Linked DNA regions of Homo sapiens: regions 2, 3, 4 and 5 are each linked to region 1. The links are contacts of gene promoters, found by promoter capture Hi-C in blood cells and fetal thymus (Javierre and others, 2016). All regions are on one chromosome and are shown on one strand. The core of a region is centred on a gene start or on the middle of the fragment in contact, and the rest is flanking DNA. Distances in the headings are between cores, read along the strand shown.

Region 1 (5,466 bases), core at 2,172-4,671:
AATATTGCATGATCATTATCCTAAAGAAACAGATTCCAATTATTTCTTTTGAATTATAGACTTACAGTTAATTAAGAATTTTTATAGTTAATTAAAAATTAGACAGATTGTAACCTTGAATGTAACAAAGGACATAAAGAGAAACCATTTGTCACATGTACCTTTTCGGGAAAATCTCACAAAAGATTTTGTTTGGCAAAGCTATTTGAAACAATTTAAAGCTAGAAATGTTTCTAGGCTATAGCAAGATGAATTCCATCGGTTTGGATTTTGACCTACCACTAAATTTTGGATTTAGGAACAGTCTCATTTTTATACTTAACACAAAAATTAAATTTTAACTTAGAAACTGAGTTTTACACAGCTTGAGGCTTGTGAAAAATTATGTGAAAATAAGTCAGTTACTGCTAGGGTCTCAGTGTTTGTGTCCTCCACAAAATTCATTTGTTGAAATTTTAACCCTTGAGATGATGGTAGTAGGAGTCAGGGCCTTTTGGGAGGTGATTAGGTCACGAGAGTGGAGCCCTCATGAATGGGATTAGTGTGCTTATAAAAGAAACATGAGGGAGCTAGCTAGTCCCTTCCACCATGTGCAGGTACAATGAGCTGTCTCTAGACAGGGGGCCCTTACCAGTCATGGAATCTGCCAGTGCCTTGTCTTTGACTTCCCAGCCTCCAGAACTGTAAAAAATAAATTGCTGTCATTTATAAGCTACCTCGTTCGTAGTATTTTGTTACAGCAGCCTGAACAGACTAAGCCAGATAATATATAGAGACAACAGATGGCTTCATACACCTAGGTGTGAATCCTGGGAAAATTGAGTGGAAACCACAGTTGAGAACACCAACGTCCTAACAATCCTGTAGCCTTCAGGCTTAGTTGGTTCTGGACTCCCTCTAGTGGTTCAATTCTAGTGCTTTAATTGATGTTCTTCAATTCATAGAATTAACAAATTTCTGGTCAGATTAAAAACAACTAAGCAAAAGAGCCACACAACTCCCATTAGAATGGTTTACCACAAGGAGGCCAGGTGCAGTGGCTCATGCCTGTAATCTCAGCACTTTGGGAGGCTGAGGCAGGTGGATCACTTGAGGCCTGGAGTTCGAGACCAGCCTGGCCAACAGGGTAAAACCCTATCTCTACTAAAAATCCAAAAGTTAGCCAGGCGTGGTGGTAGGCACCTGTAATCCCAGCTACTTGGGAGCCTGAGGCAGGAGAATTGCTTGAACTTGGGAAACAGATGTTGCAGTGAGCTGAGATCCTGCCATTGCACTCAAGACTGGGTGACAGAGCAAGACTGTCTAAAAAATAAATAAAATTTTAAAAATAAAAAGAATGGTTTATCACAAGGAGATTATGTCATTGAATGGCATGATAAATATGGATGTTCAGATGGCTGAAATCATAGTGTTGCAAATGGTTAGACCTAAAGGGACAGAATGGATTTTACTGGATGATTGGGAAAGACATTTATAGTTTTGCTCAGAGTGAGTGGATAAGAGCTGAAGGCCCAGTAACAGAATTCCTTGTTGCTTTTGTTTGCAACCTATGGTAAAGACTGGATCTTTTAGAGAAAGAGTGAAGTGAAATAATATTTCCTGTGCATATGGATTCTATAAGGTCAGAGGGTTCTTGTTTGACCTTGTATAAAATCAACCTCTTAGACCAACCAAAAGCAACATGTAGTTTCCTTCTCATCATATTCCTAATAGCATAGTTTGTGCCTCTGTTTTAAACCAATTCAGAAAATTTTGAGGCCGATTTAACTTTATTGGCTCCCTGTTTTGGCTTTGGTTATTCCACTCCATTAAACCTTTACTTCTTGGCCATTTCTGCACTGTAAATATAAGTAAATCTACTAACTCTTTTACATGAGATCCCTTTACATATTTAAGACAGTTATCCTGTCCTCAGTAAGTCTTCTTTCCCTCTCCCAGATCCTTAAAGCTTCTTGGAGCTGAATAGAAGGAACTCGATGAGGTACAGGCTTCTGATAAAATAACTTGATAGGCATGTAATTCACACCTTTAGGGGTCGGTAAAAACGATGGCTTTTTTTTTATTTCAAAAAATGCAAAGCTGTTATTTAAAAGTCCCCAAACCAAAAAGAACTGAAGCCAATGGGATTAAGAGGAAAAAAGAAAACAGGAAGTAATGGGTGACTTATCCATTTCAAGACCTCCTCCTGCTATTTTCTGATTCCTAAATTGTTCCAGAATCGATTTAAGCAGACAAGTACAGCTGAGACCAGGTAAGTTACTGTCAAGTCAAGAAGTCTGTCATGTCTGCCATGAAGTTTGGACAGAATGAGATCAGGAACTGGCATGGGTCTTAAGATCCCAGATCTGACAGTACTTCCCATTGATAAGATATTACTACACAGTCTGTAATTGATTATTTGCATAGATAGAAAAAAAAAACTTCCCAGCAACTTAAGCACTCTAAAATATCAGTTTTGTCAACTCACAAATTTGGGTTGCAGTGAAAGTGGGGAAAATAGAGGTAGGAAGATGTAAGTCAAATAAAAACAAGGTATATCTTCTTGTCTTTGAGTATCTGTAGTTCTTTTTTAACGGCAATTAAGAGGGATAGAAAATGTATTCCAGCTGATAAAAAGGAATTCCCTGTGCGAAAGGGAAAGGCAGAAAGCAGCTGGAAAAAAAAAATAGCAGGCAGTTGTCTTAATAACGTAGATAGGTATCGCCTCTAATACAGGACTTAGTACTGTTGTGCCCCAATTAGACAGTAAGCATTGATCGCATGAACTTTAGTGATTAACTTGTTGCCAAAGAATATTCAAAAGAATATCAGAAATCAGAACAAATGTACTGTTGGTGTGCTACAAATCCATCAGGTAGCCTAGTTTTCCTTCTTTCCTCTCTACAAGGGATTTTAAGCGCTACCGTGTGCTTCCCTCCCACTATGCTGGTACTTTCCCATAGGAAGGGTTGTGCCTGGACCTCCCAGATTGGAACCCCGATTACCGAAGGTCCCAAGGCTGTATTCTCAGTTACGCCAAGTCACCTGAGACATTTGCACCAGAGCACCCAAAATTCTGTGCCCATGCGGATAGTTAGAGTTTCTTCACAAAATAGCAAAGTCTCTAGGTTGCTATTCCAACGGCGGTAGTACTGATGCTCCAGTTCGAAGGCCAGGAAAACAGAATGTAAAGCCGGTGACTTCCAAGATATATGTAACCACCAAAGTACATGCTTAATGACCTAGTGAAGTGAGCTTAAGCCGCCTCCCAGACACCTGTAACGAAGACCATCTCGGGAAAGCTCTGGGTTAGGCAACTCGATTTCACGAAAGCGGACACCAACGCTCTACCCAGAGGCCCGAGCGTCGTCTAACGTTTCCATTGGCCCTTTCGGCCTTCACTCAGCTGCTAGCAACGCAGTCTGCCCTAGCGCATGCGCGCAATCTGCTTCCGGCCTGCGAGCTCGGTGTTCCGCTTTTTGTGGGCCGGGTGGGTTTCCTAATCTGGTTTCGTCTGCCTGGTTCATCTGTGTGCGATGGCTCCGGACTCGGATCCCTTCCCTGAAGGGCCGCTCTTAAAGCTGCTACCCTTAGACGCTAGAGACCGGGGCACCCAGCGCTGCCGCCTGGGCCCGGCCGCCCTCCACGCCCTGGGCGCGCGCTTGGGCTCGGCAGTGAAGATCTCGCTACCCGACGGCGGCTCCTGCCTCTGCACTGCCTGGCCTCGGCGGGACGGAGCGGACGGCTTTGTGCAGCTGGACCCGCTGTGCGCGAGCCCCGGGGCGGCGGTCGGGGCGTCGAGATCCCGGAGGAGTCTCAGCCTGAATCGCCTCCTCCTAGTGCCCTGTCCGCCCCTGCGGCGCGTCGCCGTGTGGCCGGTGTTGCGAGAGCGGGCAGGCGCGCCCGGTGCCCGGAATACAGCCGCGGTGCTGGAGGCGGCACAGGAGCTGCTGAGAAACCGACCGATCTCCCTGGGCCACGTGGTGGTCGCTCCGCCAGGCGCTCCTGGCCTGGTGGCTGCCTTGCACATCGTCGGCGGGACGCCCAGTCCCGATCCCGCTGGGCTGGTCACCCCTCGTACCCGCGTCAGCCTTGGCGGGGAGCCTCCGTCGGAAGCCCAGCCGCAGCCCGAGGTGCCCCTGGGAGGTCTTTCGGAGGCGGCCGACTCGCTGCGGGAGCTCCTCCGCCTCCCGCTCCGCTACCCGCGCGCCCTGACCGCGCTGGGCTTAGCGGTGCCTCGCGGGGTGCTCCTGGCGGGGCCCCCCGGAGTGGGCAAGACCCAGCTGGTGCGGGCCGTGGCGCGCGAGGCGGGCGCGGAGCTGCTGGCAGTCAGCGCCCCGGCGCTGCAGGGTTCCCGGCCTGGGGAGACCGAGGAGAACGTGCGGCGGGTCTTCCAGCGCGCCCGGGAACTGGCCAGCCGCGGACCCAGCCTCCTCTTCCTGGACGAGATGGACGCCTTGTGTCCCCAGCGGGGCAGTCGAGCACCCGAGAGCCGCGTAGTGGCCCAGGTGTTGACGCTGCTGGACGGCGCCAGTGGGGACCGCGAGGTCGTGGTTGTGGGAGCCACTAACCGGCCGGACGCTCTAGACCCAGCGCTGCGTAGGCCCGGGAGATTTGACCGAGAGGTGAATGGGCTTGGCGGGTTTGCCCACTGTCGGTGGAACCTCGGCCGCTTCTGGCGCCATTTGGCTGCCCCGGAGGCGTTTGCCTCTTAGGTTTGAGCATCGGTGAGGTTGGAGTTGGGGCTCTTTGCAATGCAGAGAACACGTTCTCTGCCGATATATGATCTGTGAGTCAGGACCTGTATTTCCCCAGAGTCAAATTGTCAGGACCTGTGAGTCAGGATCTGAGAGTCAGGACCTGTTTCCCCAGAGTCTAATTGTTTTGGGAAGCGAGGTGTCCATTACAGATTAATTTTGTTGTGCAGGTCCTATAATCAGTAATGTTAATTCTTAAGAGAATTTTGGTCACCTACAAGCGTGTTAAACTCATTTTTTGGAATGAGAATTTAAAGAAGGATAGCCTCAAGAAGTAAGTGTGTTGAAATAAAAAGGGAGAAGGTGGGGAAGAACTAAATGGAAGCAGGCATTAACTCTTCTGGATTTATTCATTCCTTGTCATAACACCAGCATCCTATTCCACAATTGAGGAGGTACCCACAACTGCTCCCTGAGTTGTCAGGGAGGTTGAATATTCAGAGCTGTCCTATTTTAAGCTTTGGTCCTAAATTGACTTGAATTCTAAAGAACAGTTTGAAATTTAGTGACTGATATTTCTATTTTGTGATAGGATTCAAAAGAGAAATGATAATTACACACTTTTAGCTCAGTTAGTTCAGGACTTGAGTGGATTTCTTCCTTGCACTATCTAGTACCTGTGTCCTTAAGGGCAGGGACCTAGCTATCTATACCTGGCTTCTAGAACTTTGTGTGTTCTTAAAAATAACAAAAACTTGTTAAATGACATAGAATTTTCATTGTGCAACTT
Region 2 (5,466 bases), core at 762-3,261, 130 kb after region 1:
TTATTGTAGTCACCTTTAATGATCTTAGCTACACCTTGTGGACAACTTGTTGCAGTTTCTCCATCAGCATTTGCTGCTGCTTCTTGCACTTTTATGTTATGGAGATTGCTTTTTTCCTTAAATCTCATGAACCGACCTCTGCTAGCTTCAAACTTTTCTTTTTTGTTAAAAAAATTATTTAATTTATTTATTTTTAAATAGAGACAGGGTCTCACTATGTTGCCCAGGCTGGTCTGGGTATTTCTAATTTCCTTCAAGAACCTTCCCATTTCCCAGAGTCAAGTGATAAAAGTTTAATACAAACAAACAAACAAACCCAAACAATAAAAAAGAACTTTTCATTTGCATTCACAACCTGGGTAAGAAAAGGCATAGTGCAGGGCATGGTGGCTCACGCCTGTAATCCCAACACTTTGGAAGCCTGAGGCAGGCGGATCACCTGAGGTCAGGAGTTCGACACCAGCCTGGTCAACATGGTGGACCTCTACCATAGTAGAGACAACCCTGTCTCTACTAAAAATACAAAAATTAGCTGGGTGTGGTGGCATGTGCCGAGTAGCTCCCAGCTGCTTGGGAGGCTGAGGCAGGAGAATCGCTTGAAGCTGGGAAGCGGAGGTTGCAGTGAGCCTCGCACCATTACACTCCAGCCTAGACGACAGAGCAAGACTCCGTCTCAAAAAAAAAAAAAAAAAAAGAAGAGGCATAGCTTTCAGCCTATCTCAGCTTTCTTTCTTTTTTCTTTCCTTCCTTCCCTTCCCTCCCTTCCCTTCCCCCCTCCTTTCCCCTTCCTTCCTTCCCCTTCCCCCCTCCTTTCCCCTTCCTTCCTTCCCCTTCCCCCCTCCTTTCCCCTTCCTTCCTTCCCCTTCCCTCCTCCTTTCCCCTTCCTTCCTTCCTTGCCTGCCTCCCTCCCTCCTTCCTTCCTTCCTTTCTTCCTTCCTTCTTTTCGTCCTTCCTTCCTTCTTTCCTTTTTTTGGAGTGCACAGGCACAATCATGGCTCACTGAAACCTCTACTGCTCAGGCTCAGGCAATTCTCCCACCTCAGCCTCCCAGAGTGTTAGGATTATAGGCGTGAGCCACCATGCCCATCCTTATCTCAGCTTTCCATATGCCTTTCTCACTATGGTTAATAATTTCTAGCTTTTGATTTAAAGTGAGAGATATACAACTCTTCCTTTCACTTAAACACTTAGAGGTCATTGTAGGGTTATTAACTGGCCCAATTTTAATATTGTGTCTCGTAATAGGGAGGGCCAAGGAGAGGGAGAGTGAAGGGGGACGGCTGGTCAATGGAGCAGTCAAAACATATACAACATTTATCAGTTAAGTTTGTCATCTTATATGGACAAGGTTCGTGATGTCCCCAAATAATTACAATAGTAATATCAAAGATCACTGATCACAGATCAGTATATCAGATATAATAATAATGACAAGGTTTGAAATATTAAGAGAATTACCAAAAGGTGACACAGAGACATGAAGTGAGCCCAGGCTATTGGAAAAATGACGGCGACAGATTTGCTTGACACAGGGTTGCCATAAACCTTCAATTTGCAAAACTGGCAATATCTAACAAGTGCGAGAAAGTGAAGCACAATAAAACAAGGTGTGCCTATAGAGGTGTCCTTTTGGCTATTGGGTCTGTTTCACAAAAAAAACAAAAAACAGCCAGATGCAGTAGCTCATACCTGTAATCTCAACACTTTGGGAAGCCAAGGGGAGAGGATCTCTTGAGGTCAGAAGTTTAAGACCAGCATGGGCAACATATTGAGACCCCGTCTCTCCAAAAAATTTTTTTAAAGCCTCCAAGGAATTGGCGGTTGCAGTGAGCTATGATTGTGCCAGTGTACTCCAGCCTGGGTAATAGAGGGAGACCCCATCTTTAAAAATCAAAACAAAACAAAACCAAAAAAAGAGGAAGAAGAAATAATTGTGGCTTTTTTGTTTTTTGTTTTTTTGAGACAGGGTCTCGTTCTGTTGCCAAGGCTGGAGCGCAGCGGTGCGATCTCGGCTCACTGCAGCCTTGACCTCCTGGGCTTAATCTATCCTCCTGCCTCAGCCTTTTGACTAGCTGGGACCATAGGTGCTTGTCATCATGCCCGGCTAATTTTTGTATTTTTTTCCTTGTAGAGATGGTTTTTTGCCATGTTGCCCAGGCAGGCCTTGAACTCCTGGGCTTAAGTGATCCTCCTGCCTCAACCTCCTGTAAGTGCTGGGATTACAGGTGTGAGCCACCATGCCCAGCCAATATTTAAATTCTGTAGTAGCTTCTGATTTAAACCTAAATTATAATATCACAATGGAATGGCAATATGCACCCCTAGCAAAATCTTACAGTTTTGTTTTTTTTTTTTCTTTGAGACAGGGTCTTGCTCTGTCACTCAGGCTGGAGTGCAGTAGTGTGATCTCGGCTCACTGCAACCTCTGCCTACCTGGTTCAAACAATTCTCATGCCTCAGCCACCCGAGTAACTGTGATTACACACAAGCACCACCATGCCTGGCTAATTTTTCTATTTTTATTGTTATTATTTATTATTATTATTATTTTTTGAGATGGAGTTTTGCTCTTGTTGCCCAGGCTGGAGTGCAGTGGTACGATCTCTGCTCACTGCAATCTCCGCCTCCAGGGTTCAAGCAATTCTCCTGCCTCAGCCTCCTGGGTACCTGAGATTACAGGCACCTGCCACCACCCCCAGTTAATTTTTTGTATTTTTAGTAGAGACTGTGTTTCCTCATATTGGCCAGGCTGGTCTCGAACTCCTGACCTCAGGTGATCCACCTGCCTCGGCCTCCCAACGTGTTGGGATTACAGGCGTGAGCCACCGCGCCCAGCCTAATTGTTCTATTTTTAGTAGAGACGAGGTTTCACTATGTTGGCCAGGCAGATCTCAAACTCCTGGCCTCAAGTGATCCACCCACTTCAGCCTCCCAAAGTGCTGGGATTACAGGCATGAGCTACCACACCTGGCTGTTTTAGAGATTCTTAATCTAGATTTTCTGAGTGGGTTTTAGGGAGTTTGGGAGGCCTTAAACTTATGTGCAAAATTTTGAGGACATGTATATTTTCTGGGATAAGTCTTTTAGCTTTCATCGTATTCTCAAATTGGATTGACTCAAATTAGGTTAAAAACAACAACATTGTCAGGAGAGCTCATCTTAAAGGTCCAGCCCCTAGCTTCTACTTGAGTTGAATTGTAGGGCAAACTCCTATTTATCCAGCGTTTTTTTTTTGAGACCGAGTCTCACTCTGTTGCCCAGGCTGGAGTGCAGTGGCGCGATCTCAGCTCACTGCAAGCTCCGCCTCCTGGGTTCACGCCATTCTCCTGCCTCAGCCTCCCCAGCAGCTGGGACTACAAGCGCACGCCGCCACGCCCAGCTAATTTTTTGTATTTTTAGTAGAGACGCGGTTTCACCGTGTTAGCCAGGATGGTCCCGATTTCCTGACCTCGTGATCCGCCCACCTCGGCCTCCCAAAGTGCTGGGATTACAGGCGTGAGCCACCGCGCCCGGCCTATCCAGTGTTTATGAATGTTGTATTTTTATAACAGTCCCCATGTATTACCAAATTTCAAGTTACAAAAAATACAATAAAAAGTCACATGAAACGTCATTTTCCTCTGAAGATTGAAATGGCACTTTAGAATCTTGTATGCCTCAGATGCAAGAAATCAACTCCTTTAAATATGACTCCTCGGATTTAAATGCCCATCATATTTCTACAGAGCTGCAGCCACGGGAATCAAGGTAGGAAACCTAGATCAGAGATTCCATGTTCCCTAGACCAGGAAGGGAAAACTATTTCCTGGTTAACCAGGGCACTCTGGTAATAATCAGCTGAAAGGAGAGATCTTACTGGGGGTTGCTTTCCTAACTCCAAATATTTTAATCCACCGGGTTTGGGAGTAGGTTTTTTTGTAGTTGTTTTGAATTTCACTTTGTTATACTGTCTGAAATTCTACTAATGAGAGATACAAACGGATAAAGAAAATATTTTAGGAGTGTGATCATTTTCTCTTTAGTATAAATCCTTCAAAGAAGATTCCATTTAAAGAAATTGGATAAATGTTTTTAAGAAAAGTTAAGGAAAGAGCGTGAATTGTTTTGGGTACTTACAGCAAGCTTTGTTGAATAGGGCTGCAGTTCTGCCTCCCAGTTTGTTTTTATTATTTTTCTCACTGGGTACCTGGAGAAAGTGATGGGAGGACAACAAAAACTCTATATGGTGATTTTAAAGTATATCCACAAATTCTGTGATACTCTACTTATCAAGAGGTGGAGCTTAATTTCCTTCCTATTGAGCGTGGACTGCACTAAATGAGTTGCATGTGGCCTGTAATGAATATGGCAGAAGTGACTCTGTGTGACTTATAAGACTAGGTCATAAAAGGTATTGCAGCTGCCTCCTCATCCTCACACTTGGATCGCTTGCACTAGGAGGAGCCAGCTACTGTGTCATGAGGAACTCAAGTGGCCCTGTGGAAAGGCGTGTGTGATGAGGAACTGAGGCCTCTTGCCAACAGCCATGTGAGTGAACCATTTTGGAAGTGGACCCTGTAGTCCCAGCTAAGCCTTCAGATAACTATAGACTGGGCAGTGCTAACTAAAACCTGGAGAAATCCAGAGCCAGAACCACCCAGCTAAGCCATTCTCAGATGACCCACAGAGACTGCATGAGATAAGAAATGTTTGTTTTAAGATGGCAAGTTTTGGGATACTTCGTTACACAGCAATAGATAACTAATATGTTATGTATCAGTTTTCCTGCATACCAGGAAAGACACTTTTCTTATTCCTTTATCACATGGGCTCTTATTCCTCAGCCTGCCCTCAGACTAGTGGCATGATTTCTATCACTGAGCTTCAAAATGGGCTAAATACATAGACTTCTGCAAATAGGCTTGGAATGTAACTACAATTTGCAACCTTATTTCTACGCACTCGGAGTTTATAATAATAGACAAATGAACTTTTGAAACAGTGCACACTTATAATCTCGGTACTGCCTGCAATTCTGTTTGCTAGCTATTGCTCAGTATGCCATTCTTTTTTAAGAGACTTCATACGTTTTTCTAGTCTGAAGAATTTATTTATTTTTTATTTTAGTGAGACAGGGTGGAGGGGCAGGTCTCACTATGTTGCCCAGGCTGGTCTTGAACTCCTGGGCTGAAGTGATCCTCCTGTCTCAGCCTCCCAAGTGCTGGGATTACAGGCACGAGCCACCAAGCCCAGCCTGAATAACTTCTTGCATGGCAGATGGAAAAGGCTGCCAACCATTTAGCTAGTCTCTCAACCAGGCAACTCGTAATATGCAGATTTAGGCAATAGCAGAAGCCTGTCAACTGAATTGCAAGACACATACCTTGGGGCAGTTGAAAGGGATGGGCATAAAATTTCCTATGTCAAAATTTGTTTTCTGGTCCAGATATCTCTTGAAAAAAATGGCTGGGTGTTGTGGCTTATGCC
Region 3 (5,466 bases), core at 1,736-4,235, 110 kb before region 1:
ACGGAGCGGCGGGGCAGAGGCACTCCCCACATCTCAGACGATGGGCGGCCGGGCAGAGACGCTCCTCACTTCCTAGATGGGATGGCAGCCGGGAAGAGGCGCGCCTCACTTCCTAGATGGGATGGCGGCCGGGCAGAGATGCTCCTCACTTTCCAGACTGGGCAGCCAGGCAGAGGGGCTCCTCACGTCCCAGACGATGGGCGGCCGGGCAGAGACGCTCCTCACTTCCAAGACGGGGTGGCGGCCGGGCAGAGGCTGCACTCTCGGCATTTTGGGAGGCCAAGGCAGGCAGCTGGGAGGTGGACGTTGTAGCGAGCCGAGATCACGCCACTGCACTCCAGCCTGGGCACCATTGAGCACTGAGTGAACGAGACTCCGTCTGCAATCCCGGCACCTCTGGAGGCCGAGGCTGGCGGATCACTCGCGGTTAGGAGCTGGAGACCAGCCCGGCCAACACAGCGAAACCCCGTCTCCACCAAAAAAATACGAAAACCAGTCAGGCGTGGCGGCGCGCGCCTGCAATCGCAGGCACTCGGCAGGCTGAGGCAGGAGAATCAGGCAGGGAGGTTGCAGTGAGCCGAGATGGCAGCAGTACAGTCCAGCTTCGGCTCGGCATCAGAGGGAGACCGTGGAAAGAGAGGGAGAGGGAGACCGTGGGGAGAGGGAGAGGCAGAGGGAGAGGGAGAGGCAGAGGGAGAGGCAGAGAGGCAGAGAGGCAGAGAGGCAGAGAGGCAGAGGCAGAGGCAGAGGCAGAGCTATTTTTTTATTTTTTTGAGACAAAGTCTCGCTCTGTCACCAAGGCTGGAGTGCAGTGGCATGGTCTTTGCTCACTGCAACCTCCCGCTCGTCTTCATATGTAAACCTTATGGCATTGTCCTCTTCTGGTTCTCCTCCTACTTCTCCGACTGCTCTTTTAAGTGTCTTCTGGCTGCCCCTTCCATATGACTCTCCTGAGCAGGATGGTCGTAGAGTGTGGAAGCCTAGCTCCTCTTGCTCAAAAGTCCATTGAAATAATGAATAAAGTACACATACAGAGGAAAATAATTTATTGCTACAGAAAACCAAGGTTGAAATCATATATAAACTAGAAATCTGGGGGGATTTCTTCCAGCAGTAATGATGGGCCAGGATTGAAAAGAGCCAGTGAGGGCGCGTACCACCCTCCTTCTTGAGCAAGGACAACTTATCTAGAAAGTAAGTGGCAAAACTCCCTGGCCGACCCCACTGCCACTCTCTAACTCAGAGAGGCAAGGACAGTGTTACTCTGGCAGAGAGGAGGGTGAGGTGTGTTGAGGGGCCTGCTGAGAGGCCCACCACAAGAAGTACCTTCTGAGTAGCTAACTCAATTTTTAAGATGAAAGCCCATGAAATAAATAAAACTGCAAAGCATAAACTTGATTTTGACAAAGCCTGGGGAGTGATTCCCTGACAGGGGTAGAATTGAAGGAAGTGGTTTTTACTGCACACTTTACAGAACTTCTTATTGGTGTAATGTGGGGTATGAAAGGGAAAATAAATTTTTGTTCATGAAGTCATTGCTGAAGGCTTTCCCTAGCTGCTTAGCTTACTAATACGGTCTCATTGCTTTGTATCATTCTGAACCACCATGCATTCCATTCCCTTTTCATTGTAGCACTTCTCTAGAGGGCACCATCTTTTGCCAGTCCCTAGGTGGAAAAGACTTTGGAGTTTAAGCATACCACCATGCGTAAGACTGGTCCATTTCCTCAGCATTCCTCATTCAGGCTACCTTTTTGTTGGCAAAGCTAGTGACTTCCCATTCTACAATCAATTCACCAATATCTCTAATAGAAAATGTTAATGTTTGGTTTTGGTTCGCTGTATCCTAACAATGAAAACTTCCTCAACAATATTTAAAATTGTCTGTGGATCCTACCTGAATTAGGTTTGAAATAATAAACATTACCATGTCAAATAAAATCTTAACATTTTAATTCCTCATAGTCATTCTATAAATTGTATGACGTAATGTGGTATAGCAAAGAATAGCACTTGTGGAGAAAAACTCTATTTCTAGACATTTTGAGGGTGAGCTGAAATTCTTGCAACTACAGAATCATTTGAAAGGAGTGTATAAACTTAATGGACAGTCCCCCCACTCCCACATTTACACAGCTGTTACATATCTCTTTAACTATTAATATTGAAACAAAAATACTTTCTATTTACAAACTTCTGGGGTATCCTGCTCTTTAAAATTCTTCACTATGGTTTAGTATTAAATAGTCATGTCTTTTTCCTTATTTATTTTTTATTTTTTTGAGATGGAGTTTTGCTCTTGTTACCCAAGCTGGAGTGCAATGGCACGATCTTGGCTCACCACAACCTCTGCCTCCCAGGTTCAAGCGATTCTCCTGCTTCAGCCTCCTGAGTAGCTGGGATTACAGGTATGTGCCACCATGCCTGGCTAATTTTGTATTTTTAGTAGAGATGGTGTTTCTCCTTGTTAGTCAGGCTGGTCTTGAACTCCCGACCACAGGTGATCCACCTGCCTTGGCCTCCCAAAGTGCTGGGATTACAGGTGTGAGCCACTGCACCAAGCCATCTTTTTCCATTTTAATAAGAGATCATTTAATAATTTTTCTATTAATAATTTTTCTATTAATATTTTAGCAAATAAATTTTAAAAATGATTTCAAAAGAATACTCACATCCTCTATGTTTACTCAGTCTGTTTTGCATTATTGTAAAGGAATACCTGAGGTAATTTATAAGGAGAAGAGGTTTATTTGGCCCACTGTTCTGCAGGCTGTACAAGAAGCATGGTACCAGCATCTACTTCCGGCCAGGACCTCAGGAGGCTTCCAACCATGCTGGAGGTGAAAGGGGAGCAGGCGTGTCACATGGTGAGGGAGGGAACAAGAGAGGGGACAGGAGTGCCATGCTCTTTTAAACAATCAGCTCTCCTGTGAGCTAATAGAGAACTCACTCATTACAGTGAGGATGACGCCAATTTGGTCATGAGGAATCCACCTTCCTGACTCAAACGTCTCCCACCAGGCCCCAACTCTAACACTGGAGATCAATTTCAATATGAGATTTGGAGAGAACAAATATCCAAACTATATCACCACTTCATCATTCAACCCACCAAGCTCAGAGAACACAGCACCAAAACAAAAAAAAACCCTTTGATCCTCTTCCTCATCCTTCTCCCCCATCTCCCATGTCTTTGAAACCTGACTCAAAGAAAGAGGGAAGCCTCAGTAATTTGCTTCTTGAATTATAGCCATGTTCATCCTAGGCTTCCGGAGACAGTGGTTATAGTGGGTTTGCAGCACACTCACTGGAGCCAGACTGATATGGTTTGGATCTGTTCCCCACCCAGATCTCATCTTGAATTGTATTCCCATAATTCCCACATGTTGTGGGAGGGACCCAGTGGGAGATAAGTGGAATCATGGGAGCAGTTTCTCCCATAATGTTCTCATGGTAGTGAATAAGTCTCATGAGATCTGATGGTTTTATCAGGGGTTTCCGCTTTTGCATCTTCCTCATTTTCTCTTGCCACCACCATGTAAGAAGTGCCTTTTGCCTCCCACCATGATTCTGAGGCCTTGCCAGCCTTGTGGAAATGTAAGTCCAATTAAACCTCTTTTTCTTCCCAGTCTTGGGTATGTCTTTATCAGCAGCGTGAAAATGGACTAATACAGTAAATTGGTACCAGTTGAGTGGGGTGTTGTTGAAAAGATACCCAAAAATGTGGAAGCGACTTTGGAACTGGGTAATAGCCAGAGGTTGGAACAGTTTGGAGGGCTCAAAGAAGACAGGAAAAATGTGAGAAAGTTTGGAACGTCCTAGAGATGTGTTGAATGACTTTGACAAAAATGCTGATAGTGATATGAACAATAAGGTCCAGGCTAAGGTGGTCTCAGATAGAGATGAGGAACTCGTTGGGAACTGGAGCAAATGTGACTCTTGTTATGTTTTAGCAAAGGGACTGGTGGCATTTTGCCTCTGCCCTAGGGATATGTGGAACTTTGAACTTGAGAGAGATGATTTAGGGCATCTAGTGGAAGAAATTTCTAAGCAGCAAAGCATTCAAGATGTGACTTGGGTGCTGTTAAAGGCATTCAGTTTTAAAAGGGAAGCAGAGCATAAAAGTTCAGGAAATTTGCAGCCTGACAGTGCGATAGAAAAGAATCCTAGCTGGGCGCGGCAACTCACACCTGTAATCCCAGCACTTTGGGAGGCTGAGGTGGGCAGATCCCTTGAGGTCAGGAATTCTAGACTACCCTGGCCAACATGGTGAAACCCCGTCTCTACTAAAAATACAAAAATTAGCCAGGCATGGTGGCTCACACCTGTAATCCCAGCTACTCAGGAGGCTGAGGCAAGAGAATCACTTGAACCCAGGAGATGGAGGTGGCAGTAAGCCAAGATTGCACCATTGCACTCCAGGCTGGGCAACAGAGTGAGACTCCATCAAAAAAAAAAAAAAAAAGAAAGAAAATCCCATTTTCTGAGGAGGAATTCAAGCAGATATTTGTAAATTCAAGCAGATATTTGCATAAGTAATGAGGAGTCAAATGTTAATCCCCAAGATGATGGGGAAAATGTCTCCAGAGCATGTCAGAGACCTTTGCAGCAGCCTCTCCCATCAAAGACCCAGAGGTCTAGGAGGAAAAAATGGTTTTATGGGCAGGGCCCAGGGTCCCTGTGCTGTGTGCAGTCTATGGACTTGGTGCCCTGCATCCCAGCTGCTCCAGCCATGGCTGAAAAGGGCCAACATAGAGCTCAGGCCGTGGCTTCAGAGGGTGCAAGCCCCAAGCCTTGGCAGCTTCCATGTGGTGTTGAGCCTGCAGGTGCACAGAAGTGAAGAATTGGGGTTTGGGAACCTCTGACTAGATTTCAGAAGATGTATGGAAATGACTGGATGCCCAGGCAGAAGTCTGCTGCAGGGGTGGGGCCCTCATGGAGAACCTCTGCTAGGGCAGCACAGAAGGGAAATGTGGGGTTGGAGCCCCCACAGAGTCCCTACTGGGTCACCACATAGTGGAGCTGTGAGAAGACGTCCACCATCCTCCAGACCCCAGAATAGTAGATCCACTGACAACTTGCACTGTGCTCCTGGAAAAACCACAGACACTCAATGCTGGCCCATGAAATCAGCCAGGAGGGAGGCTGTACCCTGCAAAATCACAGGGATGAAGCAGCCCAAAACCATGGGAACCCACCTCTTACATCAGTGTGACCTGGATGTGAGACCTGGAGTCAAAGGAGATCATTTTGGAGCTTTATTTTTAATTAATTAATTAATTTATTTATTTATTTAATTTTTGAGATGAAGTTTCACTCTTGTTGCCCAGGCTGGAGTACAGTGGTGCGATCTCAGCTCACTGCAACCTCTGCCTCCTAGGTTCAAGCAATTCTCCTGCCTCAGCCTCCTGAGTAGCTGAGATTACAGGCACCCACCACCATGCCTGGCTAATTTTTGAATTTTTA
Region 4 (5,466 bases), core at 843-3,342, 84 kb before region 1:
CAGTTGTGAGCCACCACACCTGGCCCTAGCCATAAAAATTTTATTGTGTATTTTGAGGTTTATAACAATATTATGGGATACACATGGATAGGAAAATGGTTACTATTGTGAAGCAGATCAACGTGTCTATAATCTCACATAGTTACTTTTTTGTGTGCAATAAGTGCAGCTAAAATCTGCTTATTTAACAAAAATTCCTAATAGAATACAATTTTATTTAGTCCTTATGCTGCACATTAGATCACTAGACTTGTTCATCCTACACACCTGCTACTTTGTAACCTTTGACTTATGTGTTCCCATTTCTTCTCCTCCGCCGCAACGCCTTGTAACCACTGTTTTACTCTCTATCTCTATATATTTGACTTTAAGAAAAAAGATTCTACATATAAATGAGATCAGGCAATATTTTTCTTTCTGTATCTGGCTTATTTCACTTACATAATGTCCTCTGAAGTCCGTCCATGTTGTGGCAAATGACAGGATCTCCTTTTCAGTGGCTGAATAGTATTGCATTTTATATATATACAGTTTCTTTTTCCATTTATCTCTTGATGACAGTTAGATGTTTCCATATCTTGGCTATTGTGAATGAGCATGCGAGTGCGGATATCTTTATGAGATGGTGAATTCATCTTCTTTGGGAATGTAACCCAGAAGAGGGATTGCTAGGTTGTATGGTAGTTTTGTTTTTTGAGACAGGGTCTCACTTTGGCTGCCCAGGATGGAGTGCAGTGGCGCAATCTTGGCTCACTGCAGCCTCAACCTCTGGGGCTCAGGTGATTCTCCTACCTCAGCCTCCTGAGTAGCTGTGAGTACAGGCACGCACCACCATGCTTGGCTAATTTTTTGTATTTTTAGTAGAGACGGGGTTTTGCATGTTGCCTAGGCTGGTCTCAAACTCCTGGACTCAAGCAATCAGCCAGCTTTAGCTTCCCAAGGTGCTGGGATTGCAGGCATGAGCCACCATGCCTGGCCTTATTTTTAATTTCTTTAGGAACCTCCATACTGTTTTTCATAATGGCTGTACCAATGTACATTTCTACCAACAGTGTACTAGGATTCCCTTTTCCTTTCATCACTTAGCCATTTAGAACCTTGCCAAAAATAAAGAGAATCTCCTGTCTCTGGACTAGGCTTTCAAATGAAATGAAATGGAAAGTAGAGGTGGGGTTTTGCCATGTTGGCCAAGCTGGTCTCAAATTCCTGACCTCAAGTGATCCGCCCACCTTGGCCTCCCAAAGTGCTGGGATTACAGGTGTGAGCCACTGCACCTGACCTCCATCTCAGTTTTCTAACGGAATCATTAAATAGCAAGTAAGCATTAACGAAGAAGAGTGTGACTTCTTACATGTGTTCTGCAAACATTGCACATACTCTTTCCATATTGTAGTACAAACACACGGAGTCTGGGAAGGATCACACAAATCCTATCAAAAATTTCTTAATAATCATTATTTGTTAGCTCCCTTGTCCTACTAAAAGAAAATGAAAACAAATCATTACATGTTAATAACAGAAATTTGCCTAGGGTTTCCCATGACAATCTCCTAAAAAATTTAAAATACAGTTTTAAAAAATATATAGTAAAGAACAAAGAAGAACACAAAATGACCCATAATCTCACTACCCAGATAAGCTCATTGACATTAAAAAAAATAAAGTAATACATTAATGGAAATTCAAATATTCCAATAGCTTTTTAGAAAAAAAGGACACTACATTTAATGCATTGGTGTACGATGTGACCCAATTTTAGAGAATGTGTGTGATGGTGGAAAATGCATCTTTAGAATTGATGAATTATGTTATTTCTTTCCAGACTTTTTTCTTTGTGTATTTTTAATGTAGTTGATATATACATATGTAAAATGTATATACTGTTTCTGCCCTTTTTCACTTAATATTATATAAACATTACATTAGTGCTTTTTAAAATTAATGATTATCTTTTTAATGTAACTTATTTAATTAAATAATATTTAAATATTACATTGTAATTAGCTTAGCCATTTTCCTTTAGTTGTTTCCAGTGTTTGCTCTTATAATTAATATTTTTTCCTAAGTCAAACTGCATCCAGCTTTATTAAAGATACTCTTCATAAACAATTATGATAGTCCAGGCAGGACATGGGCAGACAGTTGTTAACAGTATACAACAACGTTCAAACTTCCTCCTTCCGTGGACCATCAAAATCAGAAAGCCAGTATAAAAACCAATGAAATCTGACTAAAACACCAAAAGCAATGGCAACAAAAGCCAAAATAGACAAATGGGATCTAATTAAACTAAAGAGCTTCTGCGGGGCAAAAGAAACTACCATCAGAGTGAACAGGCAACCTACAGAATGGGAGAAAATTTTTGCAATCTACCCATCTGACAAAGGGCTAATATCAAGAATCTACAAAGAACTTAATCAAATTTACAAGAAAAATACAAACAACCCCATCAAAAAGTGGGCAAGGGATATGAACAGACACTTCTCAAAAGAAGACATTTATGCAGCCAACACACACATGAAAAAATACTCATCATCACTGGTCATCAGAGAAATGCAAATCAAAACCAAAATGAGATACCATCTCATGCCAGTTAGAATGGCAATCACTAAAAAGTCAGGAAACAACAGATGCTGGAGAGGGATGTGGAGAAATAGGAATATTTTTACACTGTTGGTGGGAGTGTAAATTAGGTCAACCATTGTGGAAGACAGTGTGGCGATTCCTCAAGGATCTAGAACTAGAAACACCGTTTGACCCAGCCATCCCATTACTGGGTATATACCCAAAGGATTATAAATCATTCCACTATAAAGACACATGCACACATATGTTTATTACAGCATTATTCACCATAGCAAATACTTGGCACCAACCCAAATGTCCATCAATGATAGACTGGATTAAGGAAATGTGGCACATATATACCATGGAATACTATACTGCCATAAAAAAAGATGAGTTCATGTCCTTTGTGGGGACATGGATGAAGCTGGAAACCATCATTCTCAGCAAACTATCACAAGGACAGAAAACCAAATACCGCATGTTCTCACTCATAGGTGGGAATTGAACAATGAGAACACTTGGACACAGGGCAGAGAACATCAGACACCGGGGCCTGTTGGGGGCTGGGGGGCTGGGGGAGGGATAGCATTAGGAGAAATACCTAATGTGAACGATGAGTTGATGGGTGCAGCAAACCAACATGGCACATGTATACCTAGGTAACAAACCTGCATGTTGTGCACATGAACCCTAGAACTTAAAGTATATACGTATAAAAAAAACCTATTGAAATCTTTATCTGATGTTCTGAGTAGGGAAAGTTTCAAGCGACGGTTGGCACTCCACGTTTAGCATGTTGTTTAACACATTTTTACAAGGAGACCCTGACTTTCAGGAAATGAAATTACAATGGCAGAATTTATCTGAAGATTCACAATCTACAAATGGAACTGCCACTTTTTCAACGGAGACCATCTCAGTGGCATCGCTGGAAAGTCCAGATTGCCTGACACACTGGTAACCAACTATTGGAGGTCAGGTCCCAACAGGTGTCTGCGTTTAAAGGAGTTAAGTCAATGCTGAAGGCAGAAAGAGAGAAAAGGACATAAAAGTTAATTTTGGTTTTACCACACCTCCAGGGTGTTTGTGCTACGGTGGCTATGTGTGTCAACATCAATAAATCCCTTCTCCTAGGAGCTGAGAGGAAGTCTCTCAAAACTAGAAGGGAAAGGTGTTTTCCCAACGTCAATCAATCCAGATTCAGAGACATTCTATTAGTGACATATGCCCCTCCCACCCACAAAAAAAAAGCGTTCTGTGTACTAACAACATAACTTTAAAAAAAGTAAAATAGGATTCTGCATTTTTATAAAACAATAAAAAAATAGCATTGAAACTTCCTTTGCAAAAATTGTAACAGTGAGAGAAATCTCACCTGACTCCAACTTGCTTCTAACCTCACATGCTAACTGCCTTTGCTCATTCCTGGACATAGGCCAAGCTAACTATGGGAGGAATTTAGTTTATAGTTTTGTTTTGCTTTGTTGTTGTTGTTGTTGTTTAAACAGAGTCTCATTCTGTCACCCAGTCTGGAGTGCAGTGGCGCCATCACAGCTCACTGCAGCCTCAAGTTCCTGGGCTCAAGTGATCCTCCCACCTCAGTCTCCCAAGTAGCTGAGACTCAGGCATGTGCCAACACACCCAGCTAATTTTTAAATTTTTTGTAGAGATGGGGTCTCACTATGTTGTCTAGGCTGGTCTTGAACTCCTGGGCTTAAGTGATCTACCCACCTCGATCTCCCAAAGTTCTGGGATTACAGACATGAACTACTCCACCCAGCCAGCCTATAGTTTAACTTTGAAGCAAGGATAATAATAGTCCCTCTCCAAACTGACCCCATCTGGGGAGTTAAACTGCCTTTGTAAGGCTAATGAAAGGCCACAAGGTTAAGATTATGGGGAGGACCTGAATTCTGCTAAAATGTGGGCATAGTTAAACAATAACCAGCTGTTGTTCCCTAGCTTGGTTTTTCTATAATTCTTTCCAGTTCAGAGGTGATGAAGCTAGAGATCACAAGATCTGTAACTTCCTCAGTTACTCCTATAGATAATTTACTATCGTGGAACCCGAAATTGGTCTTTGAGATGTTTTTCAGACTTTTGCATTCTGGCAACTAACTGAGTCCACCTGGACCCATGACTCATACCAAGGAACTAACTGAACCAGTCCTGTGACTCCCCACTCAGAGACTGACTCAACAAATAAAGACTGTTTTGGACACACCTGTGATTACATCTTCAACTAATCAGCAGCACTCATTCCCTAACCCCTGCCTGCCAAATTATCCTTAAAAACCCTAGCTTCCAAGCTTTCAGGGAGATGGATTTGAGAAATGTTTCCTGTCTGCCCACTCAGCTGCCTTGCAATAATTGAACTCTTTCCCTACTGCAACACTGCTGTTTCAGCATATGGGCTTTTCTGTGCAGCAGGCAAGAATAATCCATTGGGATGTAACAGTATTTCAAACTGTACAGTCACCAGAAGTACAGATTTATCAAAAATGCATACACTTCACTTGGCATCTCCAGCACCTTCAGCTTTCTGTGCCTTCTCCGTTCTGGCATCTCCATTTTCTGCAGGTTTATTCACCTCTTTGTCAGAGTTGGCTCTTCCTTTTTCCCCTTTGGATACTTTCTCTCCCTTTTTTGTAGGGGCCTTTTTAGGCTTCAGCTGTGGCTTTGGCAGAGCAGGCTTTCCAGACAACTTTGTGGATCTTCCCTGTAGTTTGTCCTTTATCTTGGCCTTATCTTCTTTAGCATCCCCTTCAGCCTTTCTCTTGGGCATGGTGGCAATGGTGGCTGCACACAGGTGCTGGCTGCAGGGATGCAGCAATGCATGGGGATACGGTGGCACACGGGCTTTGGTCAGCCTAGGGGGTCGTTCTCACCTCTTCTTCT
Region 5 (5,466 bases), core at 1,935-4,434, 66 kb before region 1:
GCTTCTCTGCCCACCCTCACCCTTCAACTGTCAGCGTATCCTCATTCTTCTTGGATGCAGGACAAGAGTTCGGGTACGAGTTATAATACAGGTGGGCTGTCTGCTGGGGCGCACCCGGTCCAGCCTCCTCAGGCTGAGCCGGTATGCAAGCCAGACTTGGCTGGGGCAGACCAAGTGGGTGGGGTGCCTCCAGCAGCAGGTAGCATGGCCAACGGAGGTCCAGGCTGGGGAGTGGTACGTCGCTGGCCGGAGATCCCGGCTGGCAAAGTGACCAAGAAAAAAATATTGTGTCAATATCATCTGGAGGTAAGAAAATATTACACATTCACAGACGCATAAAAGTATATCCAGACCCAGATAGAAAGCTTACAGTTTTAATTTTAAAATTTTAACCAGTTATATTTCATCCAAGCAGAAATACAAAAATCACTGAAGCAATTCTCCCCCAATTGAGTACAAATTCTTAATAGATTTGATTCAAAAAATACAAAATAGACAAACAGGAAAAAAGGAACAAACTGCTGTTTTTCACCTTCAGAGACAAGATTTCTATAAACCATTTAATTAGTTAATAAAGTCCACCAAAAAATAAAAATAAAAAACAAAAAGCATAACTTGTTTTTGAAAAAAAGGCATAAATATTTTCAATTGAATTATTTGACTCCAACTTTCTTTTCTGAGATTTTTAGCCTTCTTTGTGTGCTCTTAGATTTTTAGTGAGTCCCTGTTCTAGTTATCTATTGCTGCAAAACAAACCACACTTCTATACCTAGCAACATGAACACAACAATTTTATTATCCTTATGGAATTCAGATAGGGCATGGTGTGGATGTTTTGTCTCTGCTCCATGATTTCCAGGGCCTCAGCTGGGACGACTCAAATGCTGAGGGGTGGCTTGAAAGGCTGGAAATGGAACCATCTGGAGCCTTCTTCACTCACAGATCCGGTGCCTGGGCTGGGATGACATGAAGGCTAGGCTTAGCTGTGGCTGCTGACCACAGAACTTGCATATGGCCTCTCTCTATGGCTTGAGCTTCCTGCAGAATGTTGGCCAGGCTCCAAGAGGGAGCTTCCCAAGAGAGAAGGTTCCCAGAGATCCAGGCAAAAGCTGCATGGCCTTTTATAGCCTAGTCTCAGAAATCACAAAGCATCTCTTCTTCCACACTCTGTTGCAGGGATCAGCAAACTATGGCCCAATGCCAAATCCATCTGCGATGTCTTTTTTTAAAATAAAGTTTTGTCTGGGTGTGATGGCTCACGCCTGTAATCCCAGCACTTTGGGAGGCTGAGGTGGGCAGATTATGAGGTTAGGAGTTCAAGACCAGCCTGGCCAACATGGTGAAACCCTGCCTCTACTAAAAATACAAAAATTAGCTGGGCATGGTGGCGTGTGCCTGTAATCCCAGCTACTCAGGAGGCTGAGGCAGGAGAATCACTTGAACCTGGGAGGCAGAGGTTGCAGTGAGCCGAGATCGCACCACTGCACTTTAGCCTGGGCAACAGAGTGAGACTCCATCTCAAAAACAAGAAATAACAATAAAATAAAAAAATAAAGTTTTATGGGAACATAGCATGTTTAATCATTTATGTACTTTCACACTACAATGGCAGAACGAATTAGTTGCAGTAGAAATCATATAGTTTGCAGTCTAAAATGTTTGCTGTCTGGCTCTTTACAGAAATAGTTTGCAGAGCCCTGCTCTATTGGTTAAAGCAATCACAAGCCTGCTCAGTGCCAAGGGGAAGGAATAGACCCCACCCTTGGTGGGAGGTGTGTCAAAAAATGTGCAGTCATTAAAAAAAAAAAGAATCACCACACTTCCTGTTTGCCTCATATTTTTATTCTTGTTTGGTTTTTTAACTTTGTAAGCTACTTATAAGAGCTCTTCTAACTATTTGAATGTACGCTAAAGTCATTTCGGTTAAGAGAAAGTTAAAAAATGGAAGTCAATTATGTTATTTCAAGTTGTAGTCTTTTGAAACTTCCCAATGTCAGCCCCTTTAGGTAAATATTTGGTTAATAATTCTTCCAAAGAAAGGTTAGAAAGGTTAACTTTTGTTCAGAGTTAAAGGACAAAGAAGACCTTTATTTTAGTTCCTTAAAAAAAAATAGTTCCTTAAAAAAAAGAAAAGAAAGAAAAAAGGGCTGGGCACGGTGGCTCACGCCTGTAATCCCAGCACTTTGGGAGGCTGAGGTGGGCAGATCACGAGGTCAGGAGTTTGAGACCAGCCTGACAGACATGGTGAAACCCCGTCTCTACTAAAAATAGAAAAATTAGCTGGTCAAGGTGGCACGCTCCTGTAATCCCAGCTACTCGGGAGGCTGAGGCAGAAGAATCACTTAAATCCAGGAGGCAGAGGTTGCAGTGAGCTGAAATCAATCCACTGAACTTCAGCCTGGGTGACAGAGCAAGACTCTGTCTCAAAAAAAAAAAAAAAAAAAAAAGTAAATGGTAAATGGTAAACACTTGTTGAAACAGTTAAGCCTCTCACCTGGTCAACAAGTTTCAGGTTATATAAATCATTCCCTATTGATGAACATTTTTATTTAAACATGCTATATTGGTACTATTTTAATTAAATCCCCAATTTCCTCATCTGTACAGTGAAGGAGTTGAGTAGGCAGTGGTTTTTAACTCTGGTTACATATTTAAATCATGGGAGCCGAGACCCCATCCTAGATAATCAAATAAGACCTCTGGAGATGGGGCCACTACAGATTTTAAAACCTCCTCAAATGATTTTAATATACAGCCGGGGCAGAGAAATATGTGGCTAGGTGACTGTAGGCTCTTTCCAGAGGGTGAAATTCTGTGAACGTAAGGGCGATGTGAAAATGGGAAATTTTCCCATATTTGCTGCTTATACTACTAAGAACATTATTTGGAATGACTGTTTGTATGTTTTAATACAGTAACCAGCATGACTTCAACATCTCATGGTCATTTGAACTACCTGAGTTAGCCAGAACCTAAGTCAAATGTTTCAATTTTCACATATCTTTTGATCTACTAATTATTTCTGTCATTCTATACTATACGTTTACTCTGAAATAGACCCTGTGTTTTATTTGTTCGTTAATGAACTGCTACTATGGCATCATTTTCGGTATGACATTGACATGTGTCTGTAAATACGTATTAACATTGTGTTTCTCGAACAAGTGTGCCCTTACATCACTTGGGGAATCTTGTTAAAATTAAAATTCTTATTCAGTAGATCTAGGGTGAGAATCTGGCCTAAGAATCTGCATTTTTTTTCCCTTATCGTTACCTACAGAGGATCTGCATTTCTAACAAGCTCCTAAATTATGTTGATGCTATCTGTCTACCATCCATGCACTACAGCTTGCGCAGCAAGGCATTAACAGATCCATCCAGACTGATGTAACTCAGAACTGCAAGTCAGCCTCAGCATTAATTGAGGAAAAGAATAGGGTCACAGGAAAAAGAAGGGGTGCTAGAGTCATTAAAAATTTTTATGCTTTGCATAATGGCACCTCTTTTTTTATTTTTTAAAAGAAATAACCCATTGAGAAAACTATAGAACTTTGTCACTGGTTCTTTCCATAGGTTTCATCAATTATTTTCTTCAGCCGTGTGACACCTGTCGTCTACAGTATAGGCTCATGCACTGGATATTTCTAAAGGCAGATTTAGCAGCTGAGAGCCCATTTCATTAGTATGATATAGTGGGAAAATGCACTGGACTGGATTTTAGAAGACCTGAGTTCTTGTCTTTATCACTTTTTGATTGTGTGACCTTGGGCAGGTCACTTAATCTCATTGAGCCTCAGTCTTGTCTTTAAAGCTAGGCTAGTAATCCCTGTCTACCATACAAAGTATTAAGAAGAGCAAATAAGATAGCTGTGAAAGTGCTTTGTAAATTACAAAGTTACTTAGACGTGTAAGTTATTATCATTATTGTCCATGTGGTACTGACTGAAGGCCTACGTGTAAAAACACATTGGCTCTTGATGCTGTTAACCCTCAACTTCCTTTATCAGTAGAAGGAGGTTTAGCAAGAATTAGATGATGAATAAGCCACATGGAATCTTTCTCTGTCTGGGTTCAAAGAATGAAAGAATCAAAGAATGAAAAGATGGAGTCTTAAGAGTCAGAGAAAGGCAGGGCTTGGTGGCTTATGCCTGTAATCCCAGCACTTTGAAGAGGCTGAGGCAGGCAGATCATCTGAGGTCAGGAGTTCGAGACCAGCCTGGCCAACATGGCGAAACCCTGTCTCTACTAAAAATACAAAAAAATGAACTGGACATGGTGGCATGAACCTGTAGTCCCAGCTACTCAGGAGGCTGAAGCATAAGAATCGCTTAAACCCAGGAGGTGGAAGTTACAGTGAGCCGAGATTGCACCACTGCACTCCAGCGTGGGTGACAGAGCAAGACTGTCTCAAAAAAAAAAAAAAAAAAAAAAAAGAATCCTGGGGAGAAATGGTTAATTCAAATTTCCTTATTCATGTGTATTATATACTTGACCATTGTTTCCTTTCCAATTCCTTGTCTGGCATTGGAAAACACCAGTGATGTTGATGGGAAGGTCTATGCAACTGCTTGTGAATAAAAGCCAATTTTGAATTAAAAAAAAAAAACAGAAGAAAAAACCAGGTTTCTCTGATCCGTTCACATAACTCAGTGTAGAGGAATAGTTAATACCATGTCTTTCCTTCACTCTGTAGAATGCTTGCTGTAGACTGGTAATTTACTATCATGGTTATTGAGCAAACAAAGAGGCTTGGCTTTCATTACAATAGAGGAAGAAAAATACTGGTGTGGAAAGAAACATATTTGGCCAGGAGCAGTGACTTATGCCTGTAATTCTACTACTTTGGGAGTCTGAGGTGGGAGGATCACTTAAGCCCAGGAGTTGGAAACCAACCTGGGCAACATGGGGAAACCCTGCCTTTACAAAATATACAAAAAATTAGCTGGGCATGGCGGTGCGTGCCTGTAGTTCCAGCTACTCGGGAGGCTAACGCGGGAGGATCACTTGAGCCTAGGAGGTTAAGGCTGCAGTGAGCTGTGATCGCGCCGCTGTACTTCAGCCTGGGTGACAGAGTGAGACACTGTCTCAGAAAAACAAAAGGAAAGAAAAAAACTGATTTAGCTTTTGTGGTTGGATAAAAAGTCTACATGATGAGATAGCTAGTGAGTCCATAAATCATCTCAGGGTGGTAGTCTGCAAGTGGGAAATTGAGTTAACTTTCTTGTGGGTATGGCAAATAGCTTTTTAAAATTTATTTATTTATTTTTTGAGACAGAGTCTCGCTCCGTCGCCCAGGCTGGAGTGCAGTGGCGCGATCTCAGCTCACTGCAAGCTCCGCCTCCCGGGTTCACGCCATTCTCCTGCCTTAGACTCCGAGTAGCTGGGACTACAGGCGCCCGCCACCACGCCCGGCTAAATTTTTTTTTGTATTTTTAGTAGAGACGGGGTTTCACCGTGTTAGCCAGG

What was found. Contacts are between HindIII fragments. The CHiCAGO score rates a contact against its expected background, and 5 or more counts as called.
Region 2: a fragment that was not itself captured here is called in contact with the fragment with the promoter of AFG2B in region 1 in 1 of 17 cell types (naive B cells); the score reaches 5.4 in naive B cells.
Region 3: a fragment that was not itself captured here is called in contact with the fragment with the promoter of AFG2B in region 1 in 7 of 17 cell types (M2 macrophages, M0 macrophages, M1 macrophages and 4 more); the score reaches 13.9 in M2 macrophages.
Region 4: a fragment that was not itself captured here is called in contact with the fragment with the promoter of AFG2B in region 1 in 4 of 17 cell types (M2 macrophages, M0 macrophages, M1 macrophages and 1 more); the score reaches 11.1 in M2 macrophages.
Region 5: a contact is called between a fragment that was not itself captured here and the fragment with the promoter of AFG2B in region 1, in 1 of 17 cell types (M2 macrophages). The highest score is 6.4, in M2 macrophages.

What each region holds. Positions count from the first base shown.
Region 1 is chr15:45,398,915-45,404,380 of GRCh38, forward strand. AFG2B (AAA ATPase AFG2B) reads left to right here and starts at 3,422. Exons shown (of 8, transcript NM_024063.3): 1 at 3,422-4,604. The coding sequence starts at 3,516. It also overlaps a transcript of GATM not described here. RefSeq lists enhancers at 2,875-2,924, 2,935-3,004, 3,395-3,554 and silencers at 3,635-3,714, 4,105-4,254. The HindIII fragment of the contact is 3,246 bases long and covers 1,947-5,192 here.
Region 2 is chr15:45,525,351-45,530,816 of GRCh38, forward strand. It overlaps the pseudogene HMGN2P46. Among named protein-coding and RNA genes, the nearest start is that of SLC30A4, 5.3 kb to the left of the region's middle. The HindIII fragment of the contact is 4,217 bases long and covers 1-4,120 here.
Region 3 is chr15:45,293,310-45,298,775 of GRCh38, forward strand. No RefSeq gene overlaps it. Among named protein-coding and RNA genes, the nearest start is that of SLC28A2-AS1, 17 kb to the left of the region's middle. The HindIII fragment of the contact is 8,488 bases long and covers 1-5,466 here.
Region 4 is chr15:45,316,034-45,321,499 of GRCh38, forward strand. LOC107984732 (non-histone chromosomal protein HMG-17-like) reads right to left here. Exons shown (of 1, transcript XM_047433406.1): 1 at 4,321-5,466. The coding sequence starts at 5,353. The coding sequence ends at 5,081. Among named protein-coding and RNA genes, the nearest start is that of SLC28A2-AS1, 40 kb to the left of the region's middle. The HindIII fragment of the contact is 5,565 bases long and covers 1-4,875 here.
Region 5 is chr15:45,332,704-45,338,169 of GRCh38, forward strand. It overlaps LOC124903482 (a long non-coding RNA gene), which reads left to right. Exons shown (of 3, transcript XR_007064609.1): 1 at 1-73. Among named protein-coding and RNA genes, the nearest start is that of GATM, 43 kb to the right of the region's middle. The HindIII fragment of the contact is 5,643 bases long and covers 364-5,466 here.